Regions from separate parts of the Homo sapiens genome. Here regions 1 and 2 are each linked to region 3. The links are contacts of gene promoters, found by promoter capture Hi-C in blood cells and fetal thymus (Javierre and others, 2016). All regions are on one chromosome and are shown on one strand. The core of a region is centred on a gene start or on the middle of the fragment in contact, and the rest is flanking DNA. Distances in the headings are between cores, read along the strand shown. Region 1 overlaps METAP1D (methionyl aminopeptidase type 1D, mitochondrial). Region 2 overlaps DLX1 (distal-less homeobox 1). Region 3 holds the start of LINC01124 (long intergenic non-protein coding RNA 1124).

Region 1 (4,267 bases), core at 1,127-3,626, 1.4 Mb before region 3:
CTGGTTTTCAAAAAAGCTTGTACATGCAAATTCATACTCTGTGAAAACTGACCTTTGTATCCAGATAGCTAAAATCCAATGTCACTTTCAATTCTACTCTTCTTCTTCTTCTTCTTTTTTTTTTAATGTAGCTAGAATTAATGTAGTGAATATGTAATGAAATGCATTATCCTGCATGGAGATTTATCAAATTTTCCAACTGAATGCTATGCTTTGCTAGTACTAGCTGGAGTTCACCTGCATGTTGGTGTGGCGTGTGGCTCTTTTTTGTAAAGAGTTAAGTCGTACACAAAAAAAGGGAACAAAGGTCAGCACCCAGCCGCCACTTGAATGTGAGATTTTTCTTTTTATTCCCCTTGATGTATACTAGGCTCTGTGTTATTAGTCTTAATGATGGAAAATTGTAGTGTTGATACAAATCTTTTTTTCAAAGTAGTAGGCGGGAGCTCCATTTGTTAGTAAGTTTTTTTTGTGACTAAAAGCCATGGACAGTACATTTATGTAGCAGTAAAAGGCCTAGATGCTCTTTCCATAGCAGAGCTAATTATTCCTACTGTGACCTTACTGATCTAGCCTGTTCCTAGCACATCTCATCTGCACGCCTGTTCCTCTGTGTAGATGGTGTCAGAGAATATGAAAAACCCTATAATGAAACCATTTTCATGATGGAGAAAGGCTACTGGAGTTGCACTTGCTACAAAGAGGCTCAATTATATGAGTAATTGTGATAATTTTCTACATTCATAGCCTTCAATGGGGGAAAAAGAATGAGAGCCACAAAGGAAAATTACTTTAACAAGAAAGTACAGAGAGTAAAAATGGAAGAAGAGACAAAAAGGGGAAAAAATAACCAGAAAAAAAGTTTAAAAAATAGATCTGGAGGGAGGAATAGCGAGACAGGGAGAACAACAGAAATGCTCAAAAGCCCATGTGCAGCTGTGTTGCACAATTAAATTGAATTTTTTTTTCTGCAGTTGATGAATGTGACTACTGCAAATGTGCCTCTGTAGTTAGCTATCATTTGTTGTTCCGTGACAGGAAAAGGATAATTACCTCTCAGAGAGAATCAAAGGCTGACATGCCCTTTAGACACAGCCATGAATGCAGAGCTCGATAGAATGCTTGAATAAGAATCTAGTGTTCTCTGCCCCCTTCTACTGAAGAATAAATTTTGTTAAAATGCAAGAGCACCACCAGTAAATTTGTTGAACCCTAGGTGTTCAAAAATATGAGGTGCATCTATCGACTCATCCCATTTGCAAAAATAAAACTGCATTTTGAATTCATTTCTATTATATTCATGGACAGTAAGATAGTGAGATATGCATTAAATTTCTTTTCCCAGTAGGGGTCTGATTCAACATTTCCTATGAAAGAACAGAGAGACACTATCCTTTTTTCCCAGGCTAGTTAGCCTATAATTTAAAACTGTCAAAAACACAATTTTGTTCAAAGTCTTCAATAAAAGCTTCTCAGATATAACCCAAAGAGATTTTACTAAAGTTTGATTCAGACACTGTTACAATATTTTTAAAGCCATAAATACATTTAACTGATATTTTACTGGCTTTTTTCTTAAAGTATTTGAAGGCTTACGAAGAAAAAAAGGCAGCATCTTTTCAAGGTGACTAAGCCTTCCATCCTTTAGACAAATGGGAAGTATTCAATGGTTCATATTAATGAGAACAGTACTTTAAAGGGCACTGATGTGATCATCTTTAACAGAATGCATTACTTTAAAATGAAAACATATATTCGGCATGTCTACTTCAAAACAGTTATGGGGGAAAAAAGACCTAAAAGTAGGTAACAGATTATAAAGAAAAGTCTTAAATTCAGAAAACACACATACACATACATTCAAAAAGTAAGGATAGAATACTCTGTGAAAAATAAACAACGGTTTACAGGAAAAATGAACCAGACAAAAAAAGAACAGAAGATCACCGTTTCAGGCTATTTGTTAATCTACCAATTTGAAAGGTAAGGCTTGCTTGAACTAACACTTTATTATCTTCATATCACAGAAATACATTTCACTTCATTCCTTTATAAAATTTAGTTTTTCTCCTGTCTTATTAAAAACCCCAGGGTTGAGATGCTCATCCCCTTCTTAGGTACTCCCTTCCATATTTGGTGTGATTTTGAATAAAGGGAAACTATAGACCAGTATGTCAAGCTAAAACAAAAGCAGCCATGTAAATATTGCTTGCTCCTTCTATAAGTTTCTTTGCTGACCCTGGTATAATTCATTTTTATAAAATCTTTTTTTTTTTTCAACTCAGGGAACAATATTGCAGCCTGGCAGTTCACATACTGATATCAGACTGAAATGATGGTTCTGAATCATAAAACATGTCATCAACTTTATACCAAGCCACCAATAACCTTTGTACCATTTGCCAACCCTCCCTTTACTTGTCAATGTAAGGCTTACCTGATTGTGTTTCCAATTACAGAGAAGGGAGCCCCTGCTCTGCAAGCTGCAATTGCTTCATCTCTACACCTCCTGGCAACCTCCACTAACTTTTTACCACATTCGTCCACATTGCCCACCAAAAATGTTTCAGAGGTGTCTCCATGGTAGCCATTGTAATAGACCTAAACATAAGCAGAAATTTAAAAATATGTCCTTGTTTAAAAATCTACTTTCCTAAAGTATACATTGTATTCATTTATGTATTTAGTAGACTCATGTTTTACCCTTCCAGAATTATTCATTTGCCTATCAAAAAAAGAAGAAATAGATATATTGAAACCTTGCAGAAATTTAAAAGATGAAGCCATGCAATGATATTGCAAAATTTAAAAACAACTATGTTAACTAGTATGGTTATTTCAGCATTATGATGAACAATACTACTGTAATATTTTGATTCCTCACTTTATTTCTGAGAAGACAAAATTATATAAGCAAAAATTAGTAGCCAAAGACCTTGATCTACAATTACCACAACAGGTTTAGAGAACCAAAAAGTATTTAACATAGTGAAAAGTTTCTTCAATGTCATGAAGACTTACTTGATTTTGTATTTACCAGTTCTACATTTGAAGTGATATATAATGACAAGAAGAAGTAAGATAGACATGTCTGTATTCTAACAAACAAATAGGAGAATTCAGTTCTAAGAATTGAAGTGGTTCCATATAGGAATGAAATGTGTTACAGAAAAATCCTATGTCTAGAAGTGAAATCTTAATCAAATGTTCCAGACAGCCGAACGTTAACAGAAAGCACTATATATGGATATCTAAAGAATTAGAATATAATAAAACAAGCTTAAAAGCACAATTACAGAAAGTATAATTTTATCAGTCTTCAGTGATTCAGAAGCCAAGTAGGATCTTGAAAGATACCAGATTCATTATAAATCATTGATAACCAAGCACTATAGTAAATATAAAAGGCAGAGGCAACTGTTTGGATACTGATCCTTTGATGTAGCATGGAATTTGCTACTTTGCATAAATTTGTCCTATCTAATTATTTTTCACATTTCTCTTGCTCATAAGGTAGAATGTAGAAACTGTTATAAAAAAGATGTTTATATGAGCTTTCAGTCTGTTGTGATACTGAATTAATGTCTTAAATCTGTATACTACTCTGCATTTCTTAAAAAATGCTCTCATATTCTGTGAAGGAAGCAAGAAAGGTCTTTATTAGATCTTCAGTTTATAATTCAGGAAACTGAGGCACAGATAAGTAACTTGTTTAAGGTTGGTGGCAGAATATAGAGGTAGATTCAGGTTAATATGATGGATTATTGGCTTCTAATCGAGTGTTTTCTCTACTATATCAAATTATCTTAATTACCTTGCAACAGAATAGTGTTTTATACATTTACTCCCACTTACAGTCCTTTGCAATCCAGGAAAGTATGAGTTTTTATTTTATACACTTGGCAGTATTTCACTTTGCTTCATAGGTTTTACAATTTTGAAATAGTTTGAATGTTAATAATGAAACTATTAAAAGTCTTCAGGAAACTTAGAAAAGGAATAGAGTATTCTCTTTGGACACATTGGAAACAGTAGGGAAGACTATGCTGATTTCGTTCAAAAATTCAAATTTTTATATTCTTATATTTCATTCAAAATACAAGAATACTATTTCAAAATACAAAATACGATTTCATTCAAAATACAAGAATATAAAATTTGCTAATATAGGCGTAGTCAAGAAAATGTATAAATGAATGTTTATATAACTGCTTTTTAAGTAAAAATGTACTATTTTAAAAAATCTTTATTCATCTTTTCATATTAC
Region 2 (4,145 bases), core at 1,600-4,099, 1.4 Mb before region 3:
CTGTCCCCTGGAGCGCACTGATTGATAGAGGGGCAGTCTGACAGACGTGTCTTTCCGGGCCCCTGCTTGGCGTCTGGCTGCGTCTTTTCCGCGACGGAATCCAGCGCCTCCGGGCATGCAAAAGCAGGGAGGCCTGATCCGGAGGAAGGCTAGAGGCAAAGCAGTGTCTCTGCTTTCAGGCCTCTCAGCCTCCCAACCTCCCGGCCTCTCAAGAGCTGGCTGGGTGTGGGAAAAACTGAAATCGTCCTGGCCGGCTGACTTTGAACTCTGACTTCATCTCCTCTCAGCCGGTCTTCAACATCCTTTTGGTTCCTGAGCGTCAGCCCTGCCCTGATGCACCTGTTCCTGAGCCCCCTTCCTGGGGAACCCTCGCCAGGCATTCTCTCCTTACCCTTCCAATTCAGGTAGGAATCAGACACCTTGGGGGTCAATGGAGCAAGGCAGGAAGAAAAAGCCCAATGGGGCACCTCACAGGCCTCTGACGATACCCTGGTGTTTCTGGGGTACAGGGTCTCCATTCTATCACCGATAAGTTGATAAGTCGCTGACCCTGTATGAACTGTCTCCAGAGGCGGGAACCTGGCCTGGCCCCCTGGCACAGCCTCACACAGCACAAGAGAGCAGTTCTTTCAAGAAATCATAATTTTACTGTCTCAAAGAAACTTTATAACTTATTTACAAAGTTTTTTTCCCAAGATACAAAGCAATAAGTTAACATTCTCAATATAAAACTAAACTTTGACATAGAGAACACAAAACACAGTTGATTTCAATTGATCACATTTTCCAAATTTCACAAGAAAAATGTCAAGATTCTCATTTCACAAAGCATGGGGTTTTACAGCCACACACAACAGAACGCAAAAAGGCTAAGCTTGTGCAACATGTTTACAGAACAACAATAATAACAATAATAATAATAACAATAATATGTACAGTCATTAGATCCTGCACTGGAGATTGTGCGTTCAGGGTGGTGACTGGCATTATTCTGTGGTCGAGCCTCTAGGGATTGTTGTAAAGCTGATTTTGTCTTATTTTAAAGCCCACTGGAATTAGAGTGCTTGTTCTCGCCTGTTTTCTCTCTACTCCCCATTTGCCCTCGCTCCCTCTTTCTACCCAAGGAGGAAATCAGCATTTTCCTTCTTGTCCAGGCGAAGCAACAGAGTTCCTCCCGAAATGAGAAAATCATGTTGGCTTCATTTATCGTTCTTTTCTTTTAAAAATTATTTATTAAATAATGTCGGACATGTAAAAAATGCAAATCATTCGGCTCCAAACTCTCCATACCAGAGAAGTACAAAAGTTACTGTATAAATTAAAAATCACCACGTCCTCCTTATTCGTTTCTCCCCGTGCGCTTAAAGTAAACAGTGCGTTTGAACAGTGCGTTCCTTGCGCCCAGCAGAACCCTGAATTGGCAAACAGCCTCAGGCGAAGTCCATTTCTCAATAAATAAAACCCCCTCCCTCCAATGCCCCCAGATTCCCACACCAGCTACACAGATGGTCAGGCAGAGTGTCCCAGGATCCGGAGATGGTCAGCCCGGCAGGACCCGGGCCGCTCAGACCTTGTGGCTTTTTGCTGAGGCCGCAGAATGAGGACAGCGGACGGATGAGGACCTGGACTTTACCAGCGCACAGACAGAGCAAAAGGAGACAGGAGACTGACAGGACAGAAAAGAGCTTTTGCTTTTTCTACATTTTGTTTTTGTTTTGTTTTTTCCTGATAGTCCCACAAAGCTGAAGGTCGGCGGGTCGGGTGGAGCGGGTTTATCTTGCTGCTTGGGCTGTCTCAGGTGGCAGTGGCTTCCCTCCGAGGCCACTCTCTGCTGCCACTGCTCGGCCCAGGCCAGGGTTCAGGCTAGAGCGCGGATGCCGGGAAGTTGCTGGGCCGGACCTCGCGGGGCTCCGAGGAGATGGAGGGCGTCCCGCCTCCACTGTTCCTTCTTCCCTCTGGGTCCTTCTTTTCCGGACGGGATGGATGGACCTGGAGGCGGGAGGGACCTGGGCCGGGGAGACAAGAAGGAGACGGGCGGGCAACCTCACATAAGTTGGGGTTGCTGCATAGCTTCTTGGTGCGCTGAAGGGTACCACGATGTGTAGCTGGGGATATAGGAGCCCGCGTTTCCTCCTGAGCCCTTCCCGGATGAAGAGTTAGGGTTCCAGCCGGGCGGCACGGGTGGGGAGCCAGCAGACAGGGCCCGACCGTTGGCCAACGCACTACCCTCCAGAGCCGCCCCACCCTGCTTCATCAGCTTCTTGAACTTGGATCGCTTGTTTTGGAACCAGATCTTGACCTGCAAGAGCGGACAACAACGTGACTCAGGCTGGGACCACTGAGCCTACCTAGGTCACAGGGAGGAAAAAAGGGACCGCAGAACAGCAGAGATAGGACCTCCCAACCCTGCGCCAGCTGGCAGCTCCCTGCCAGAGAAGCAGAGACATCCCTCCTTCCTCCCTTCCCCCATAAGAGCCAAAGGCTCGAAGGCCGAACCTCCCGCCGCCGTCAGCCCACGGGGGCAGCTCTCAGAGAGCCAGGGAGGAGTTGTGATGAGGGGAGAACCGGGATCCAGGCCTTAGCCTGCCAGGGGCTCAGTCCGACCGTGGCTACCGCCTGCGGAAGATACAGCGCCTGCATAACACCGAGCCAGCAATTCCAATATCAACATCAATAAAAAGAATCGAAAACCTAGGAAGGAGTGGAGGAAATTTATTTGCAACGCGACCCAACTTTTCTATGCGCCATCTTTTCTGCCCTTGAGTTGGGACGGACTAAGGAGGCCTCAAGGTTTTGCTGAACTTCTCTTTGGATTCAAAACCATTCTTGCACTAGTGTCTGTTTGCTTTCTCCAGCTCTGCTCCAAATCCCGGACCGGACGTCGGAAACCCGCGCCCGCCGCCGTCAGGAACGCTCACGGGCTCCCCGGAGTCTTACAGAAAGCCGGGAAGGAAGGTCCCGTTTCTTCTCTAAGGTCTGGGACTTGAGAGGTGAGAGGGCGGAGGAAAGGATCTCCCCCCACCCCCAACCGGTAAGAAGGAGGAGGAGGAGGGAGGCTGAGGCGCGGACCCAGGCCCCGAGTGATTAGTCACACAATTTAAAGGCAAAGGAGGGATTAAGCCCGGAGTCTATTGTTCCAGTTGTTTAGGCACGTGTGACCTCTGAGTTCCCAAACAAATCGTCTGGGGAAATCCTTCCTGCGCCCTAATCAGATTGTCCAGGGACAGAGGGCCGGACGGCAGGCAGCTCGGGATACCGAGAGCAGTGACAGAGCTAGGGCAGAGGGAATGAGGGAGGAAGGAGACACGCTGAGAGCCAGGGGTGGACACAAACACATACACACAGTGACACCCCGACCCTGAGTCCCAGCGAGCAACAAATGAAGACCCGGGCGCAGGCCGGCCGCGGAAAGCCTGCGTGGCAGAACGGAGCGGCAGCGGCGAGGTACCTGAGTCTGTGTGAGTCCCAAAGAGGCCGCGAGCTCCGCCCTCTCCGGCAGAGCTAGGTACTGAGTTTGCTGGAACCTCCGGTTCAAAGCCTGCAACTGCAAACTGGAATAAATCGTCCTGGGTTTACGGATCTTTTTTCCCTTGCCATTGAAGCGCACTTCACCGCCTTCCACCACCGTGCTCTTCTCCGAGTCCGCCCCTGGAGGGACAGCAGAAGTAGGGCCCGTTGTTAATACGAGGGGCCGCCTTTAGTGCGAACAGCCGAGAGCGAGTGGCTACCGAAGGGTGGCGGAGGCAGCACCAGGGAGAGAACGTTCAAGAAACTCTGAAAGCCAGGGAAGGGTCCCCCAAAATCCGAGGGCCTGTCCCGGGACGCTGCAGGAGGGATAGAGCCGTTCCCAGGAGCTCAGCTCCTGCCTTTGCAGGGAAAGTTTGCTATTTTTGCAGGCGGTAGTTGAGGTTTAATTACCCTTAATTGCATACATTGTTTATAGCGCTACGCAATAAATAATTACCGAGACTAATACGTGCACATGTGGGTTTCTGTTTTCCAGCGGGGCATTGTGTGCTCTGCACACCGAGCCGCCCAGAGGCCCAGCCAGTGCCAGGAGACGCTCTGGGATTTATCCTTGGCTGGATAGTTGCAAATTGAGGGAATTTTTAAAAAAATTTATTTGCTGTGACAAGGATCTATAG
Region 3 (4,176 bases), core at 945-3,444:
CGGGGGCCGGGTTGGGTGACAACTGGCGGCAGGTGGGCGGCGGGGGCGGTGGCGGCGGCGGAGGCAGCAGGTTGGAGTAGCCTGGCGGCAGCGCGGCCTGCGCCGCGTAGGGCACGTAGGCGGGCGCGCAGCTGGCGGGCAGAGCCGCCATGCTCGAGGGCAGCATCTTGACCGGCGAGAACTCGTAGGGGTACGAGGGGTCGGCGGGGGGTGTAAGGGGAAGCTCGTGCGCAGCCCCGAAGGACGGCTGCAGGTGCGTCTTCTGCGGCGTCAGCCCCAAGCTGGGATGCGGGGGCGGCAGTGCGCCTGGCGAGTGCGCCGGCATGTCGGCGGTCCACGGGTGGAAGAGCCTGGAGGGTGAGCCCAGCGCGGGGTCGTAGGGCACCTGCAGGAAGTCCGGGGGCGCCGCCGCGCCCGGCTGGCCGATGCGGCTACAGGTGGCGGCCAGCAATGCCAGGGGCGAGTGCTTGCCCAGGTCCGGGGAGGCGCTGGGGGTGCGGTCCTGCATAGGCGGCGAGGGAGGGCGGAGAAGAGACAAAAGGTTAGCTCCAAGCGCGGACTCCGGGCCAGCCCGCCGCCCCCACGCCCGCTATTATACCGCCGCCCCTCCTCCGTCCCGGCCGTCCCTCCCCCGCCACCGCACCCCACGCACGCACCCACCGGCCGAGGGAAACTTTTGGTGCCTGCGCTACCTGAACGTGGGGCCCGCGAGCGCTTCTTGCTAAACTACTTGGTGCACTGAGACGCCATCCAGCCTTAGAGGAAGCAGGCGCGAAGTGGGAGGGGGAGGCATCCGACGGGCCCCTCCCGGCTCCGTGGTCAGTAAGAGTCGGGAAACACCCACAACCCCGCCGGCCGGCCGCTCTCCCTCCCATCTTTTAAGCTCTCTTGTCCTCACTGCCTTCGCGCTCCTCCCTGGCCCGCCCCAGGCTGAAATCAGCAGGAGGGCCCAGCAGGGTGAGCTCCGGTCCTGTTCTCGGCCAGCCGGGCACCTCCGAACAATCCCGGATCCACGCGTCCCTCCAGCAAAGGCCACACCGGATTAGGTGTGAAGTTGGCGTGGGCACCCCTAGGCCTGGCTCCAGCTGCACCCATCGGCGGGGTTCCCTTTGAGGTTCAAGGTGCACGGAGTACCAGGAGAGATCCGGACACGGCCCTTTCCACCTTTCTCCCGCCCCCTCCGGGCTCGGCCCTGACCTGGAGAAAGGCCTGCAGCGAGTCGTTCCGGAGGACGGCCACCGCGGCCATGGCTACGGCTTGCAGGCCCCTGGCTGCGGAGCGGGACGCCGCCGCCGAGGCATGGACACCCGAAGGCGAGGACGAAGGGCCGCCCAGCCTGCCTCCCTGGCGCCTGCTCTGAGCGCCGGGGCCCTCCCCGCCCTTGCCCCTCGCCGCGCCCCGCTCGCTCGCCCCGCGCGCGGTCTGAGCGCTTCAGGATCACCTCCAAGAATTTGATAAGGACTTTGCTGGGCCGCCAGCCAGTCAGAGGGAAGATTTATGGCTTTGAAGTTTGCCGCTACCCAATCATCAAAGAATAGCGGCTCTTTCAGAAGCGAAAGCAAATCCTTTGAATCCACAAAGCTCCTATGGTGTGTTTGTTGGTCTGGATAAAAGAACTGATTATTAGGGGGGATGGGAAGGGAGGAGATAAAGGCGGGACAATTAATGAAGTAATCACTATGTGGGAAATGTATATACACAAATAATTGGATTTTCCTGATCAAAGGGGGCCTTGCCGCCTGGAGACCCGCGCTTGGGTTGCTCGAGACACTCTTCCCGCCCCCCCCAACATACACACACACACACACACACACACTTGCAATTAAAGATTTGCACCGACGCAGCGCCCAAAGTGACAAAGTGTCTTTGTTATCTCTGGAAAAATCTGCCTTCGGCTTCCAGGCGCCGGACTTTGAGACGGCAAAGAGTGTAACTCTCCCCTGTATTTACTTGCACACCCTGCACCCTCGCCGCACACGCACCCGCCCGCGCACACAGCGGACCCAAGCGAGATCCCCGGTGGGGCGTGGGACCGACAGCGCCCGGCCCGCCGCGTGTCCCCCGCCCGCCGCGGTGGGGCCGAGGGCAGGGCTGTGACCTGGGGCGGGGCCGGGCGGCCGCCCAGCGCGGCGTTGGGTGGCGCGCACGCTCCAGGGCCGCCCGCCTGACGAGCGACCGGGGCTCTCCTGTGACGTTCCTGCTGGCGACCTGGAAGTTTTCCTCAGGCCACAACTTTTGCAGAGTGGACCTGGGAAAAACACCCGCGCCGCGCATACCCTCAAAGCTGAGCTCGGCAGGACACCCAAGGCGACCCGTCATGCCCACCCGAGGGGAAGAAGCTGTGCTGTCCCGCCCCCTTCTCCCCAGGCCACCCAGGAGGCCCGGGCTGGGCTGTGGGGGGCCGAAAGCCCCAGCGCTGCTGGTGATTTCTCGCCCGGAGCCCCGCCAAGCCAGCGCGCCCTCTCGCAAGCCTGGCAGACCAGGAGCTACTGGAAAAAAGGCGCGGTCGAGGAAGCCTGGTTGTTGTGGTCCCACAAACCACAAATCATACGAGAGAGGATCCCGAAGGCGGGAGAAAAGTCAGTACAGACTTGTTCCTGCCACCTTTGGAAAGAAAAAGTTCCTCACCAGGCGCGGGGCGTGCTTTGCTCTGGGCAGGGTCGCGCTTGCAGGGGCTTGGGTGACCCCCATCCCTCCCTGGCGGCTCACCTCCTGCCGAGGAGGGCCACCTGCCTCCTCCTGGCCCAGGGCGCAGGGCGCGTCCTGCCCCGGCACTGCGGACGCGGGGATCGCCTCTCCCGGGCGCGCGGGCGGGGAAGGAGGAAGAGGCGGGCGGGGAACCGCGGGGTGCTCACCGCCCTGGGGCATTAGGGGTGCGGAACCGCGTTGGAGGCCTCGCGGCCCCGGCTCGCGAGAGCGCACTGCGGAGTGGCCGCCGGAGCTCGGCCTACTCCTCTCCCCCACCCACCTCCCGTCGGACACAGTCTCCACTCTCCAGGCCGCCGGCCGTGGGGGAGCCCCTAATCAGTTCGCGCCCGGCCTCTCTGCCCGTCTTCCTCACGGGAACCGCACTGCGACCGGGACGGACGGGGTGACCTATCTCCCGATGCAGCGTCAGAGGTTAGCCTAACTACAACGGACTCGGAATCTGGACTGTATAAGGATGCCCTCCGCACTTCCATCAGGGGTCGGGGATGCGATGCCTCCGGGCCCACCTTCTCCCACGCCCAGGGCGCGCCTGCGGAATGAGAATATCGTACTCAAGACGGGTGGGCTGCTTGCGACCCAAATACAATGGGTCCCTCGCACATCCTGCACTCGCACGCCCCCTTCTCCCCCAACGAGTTGTCCCCTCTAAAACGCGAGCGGCGACCACACAACTTGGCCGACCCGATCTGGCTTCTGAAGATGAGGTCGGCTGCTCTGGGAGCGGAGAAGGGGAGAGAGCTTAGTGGTTTCATCCGAGGCCTGGCCAACCTGCTCCTTCCCACGCTCCCGTCCAGGATTTGAGTCTTGGAGAAGCGTGAGACTCGAGGGAGCTCTTCCCTGGATGCAAGTCGGAGGCCAGGGAGCCCCTTGGCACACACTCGCGCCTGCACATGCTTGCACCCTCGAAGCGATCTGGTTCCTTAGCGCTGGTTTCCTTTCCAGCTTCTTTGAGATCTTCGAAGTCCCCTTTCCCAGGGAGGCGGGCAGGGCCGGGCTAAGCAGGATGGAAGGCAGCCCTTTTTATTGAATCTGATAGCTACTTTCCCAAAAAGGCCAGAAAAGCCATTTCACATCCCCATAGTTATGGGAATTAGCTTTTTCTCCAAGATGCCCCCATTAGCCAGTTAAACCATCAGTGGGCCAACAGGGTCAAAGTTAGTGGCTTGGTGGTTGAAAGCTCGGAGTCCGAACTCTCTGAAGACATTTTTCCCGCCTTGCCACTTTCTAGTTGGTGACCTTGGCAAGCAAGGTACTCAGCCGCTGTGTACCTCAGTTTTGCGGTTTGTAAAATGGGAGTTACAATAGTGCACCCCTTGTAGAGTGGCTATAGGTTTAAGAGTTAATATACGCAAGGTCTTTAGGACGGTGCTGAGCGTACAGAAGGCCCTCTCTTGAGTGGTCGCAGTTGGCTGCTCTCGGCCTCATCTCCGTTTGTGAAAACCCGTCCAGATTCCGGTCCTCCCAGGC

What was found. The method cuts DNA at HindIII sites, captures the fragments that hold promoters and counts their contacts. A CHiCAGO score of 5 or more calls a contact.
Region 1: a contact is called between a fragment that was not itself captured here and the fragment with the promoter of LINC01124 in region 3, in 1 of 17 cell types (total B cells). The highest score is 7.0, in total B cells.
Region 2: a fragment that was not itself captured here is called in contact with the fragment with the promoter of LINC01124 in region 3 in 2 of 17 cell types (naive B cells and total B cells); the score reaches 11.7 in naive B cells.

Annotation. Positions count from the first base shown.
Region 1 is chr2:172,069,241-172,073,507 of GRCh38, reverse strand. It overlaps METAP1D (methionyl aminopeptidase type 1D, mitochondrial), which reads right to left. Exons shown (of 10, transcript NM_199227.3): 6 at 2,438-2,601. Among named protein-coding and RNA genes, the nearest start is that of DLX1, 14 kb to the left of the region's middle. RefSeq lists an enhancer at 1-1,717. The HindIII fragment of the contact is 1,811 bases long and covers 1,471-3,281 here.
Region 2 is chr2:172,086,157-172,090,301 of GRCh38, reverse strand. DLX1 (distal-less homeobox 1) reads right to left here. Exons shown (of 3, transcript NM_178120.5): 2 at 3,449-3,648; 3 at 628-2,299. The coding sequence ends at 2,045. Among named protein-coding and RNA genes, the nearest start is that of DLX1, 2.7 kb to the right of the region's middle. RefSeq lists enhancers at 1,473-2,084, 2,698-3,309, 3,924-4,145. The HindIII fragment of the contact is 3,945 bases long and covers 877-4,145 here.
Region 3 is chr2:170,712,585-170,716,760 of GRCh38, reverse strand. LINC01124 (long intergenic non-protein coding RNA 1124) reads left to right here and starts at 2,194. Exons shown (of 1, transcript NR_027433.1): 1 at 2,194-4,176. SP5 (Sp5 transcription factor) reads right to left here and starts at 1,424. Exons shown (of 2, transcript NM_001003845.3): 1 at 1,198-1,424; 2 at 1-502. The coding sequence starts at 1,248. All of the region lies in intron 5 of ERICH2-DT (ERICH2 divergent transcript), which reads left to right. RefSeq lists enhancers at 1-262, 263-1,050, 1,051-1,840 and a silencer at 2,058-2,107. The HindIII fragment of the contact is 7,273 bases long and covers 1-4,176 here.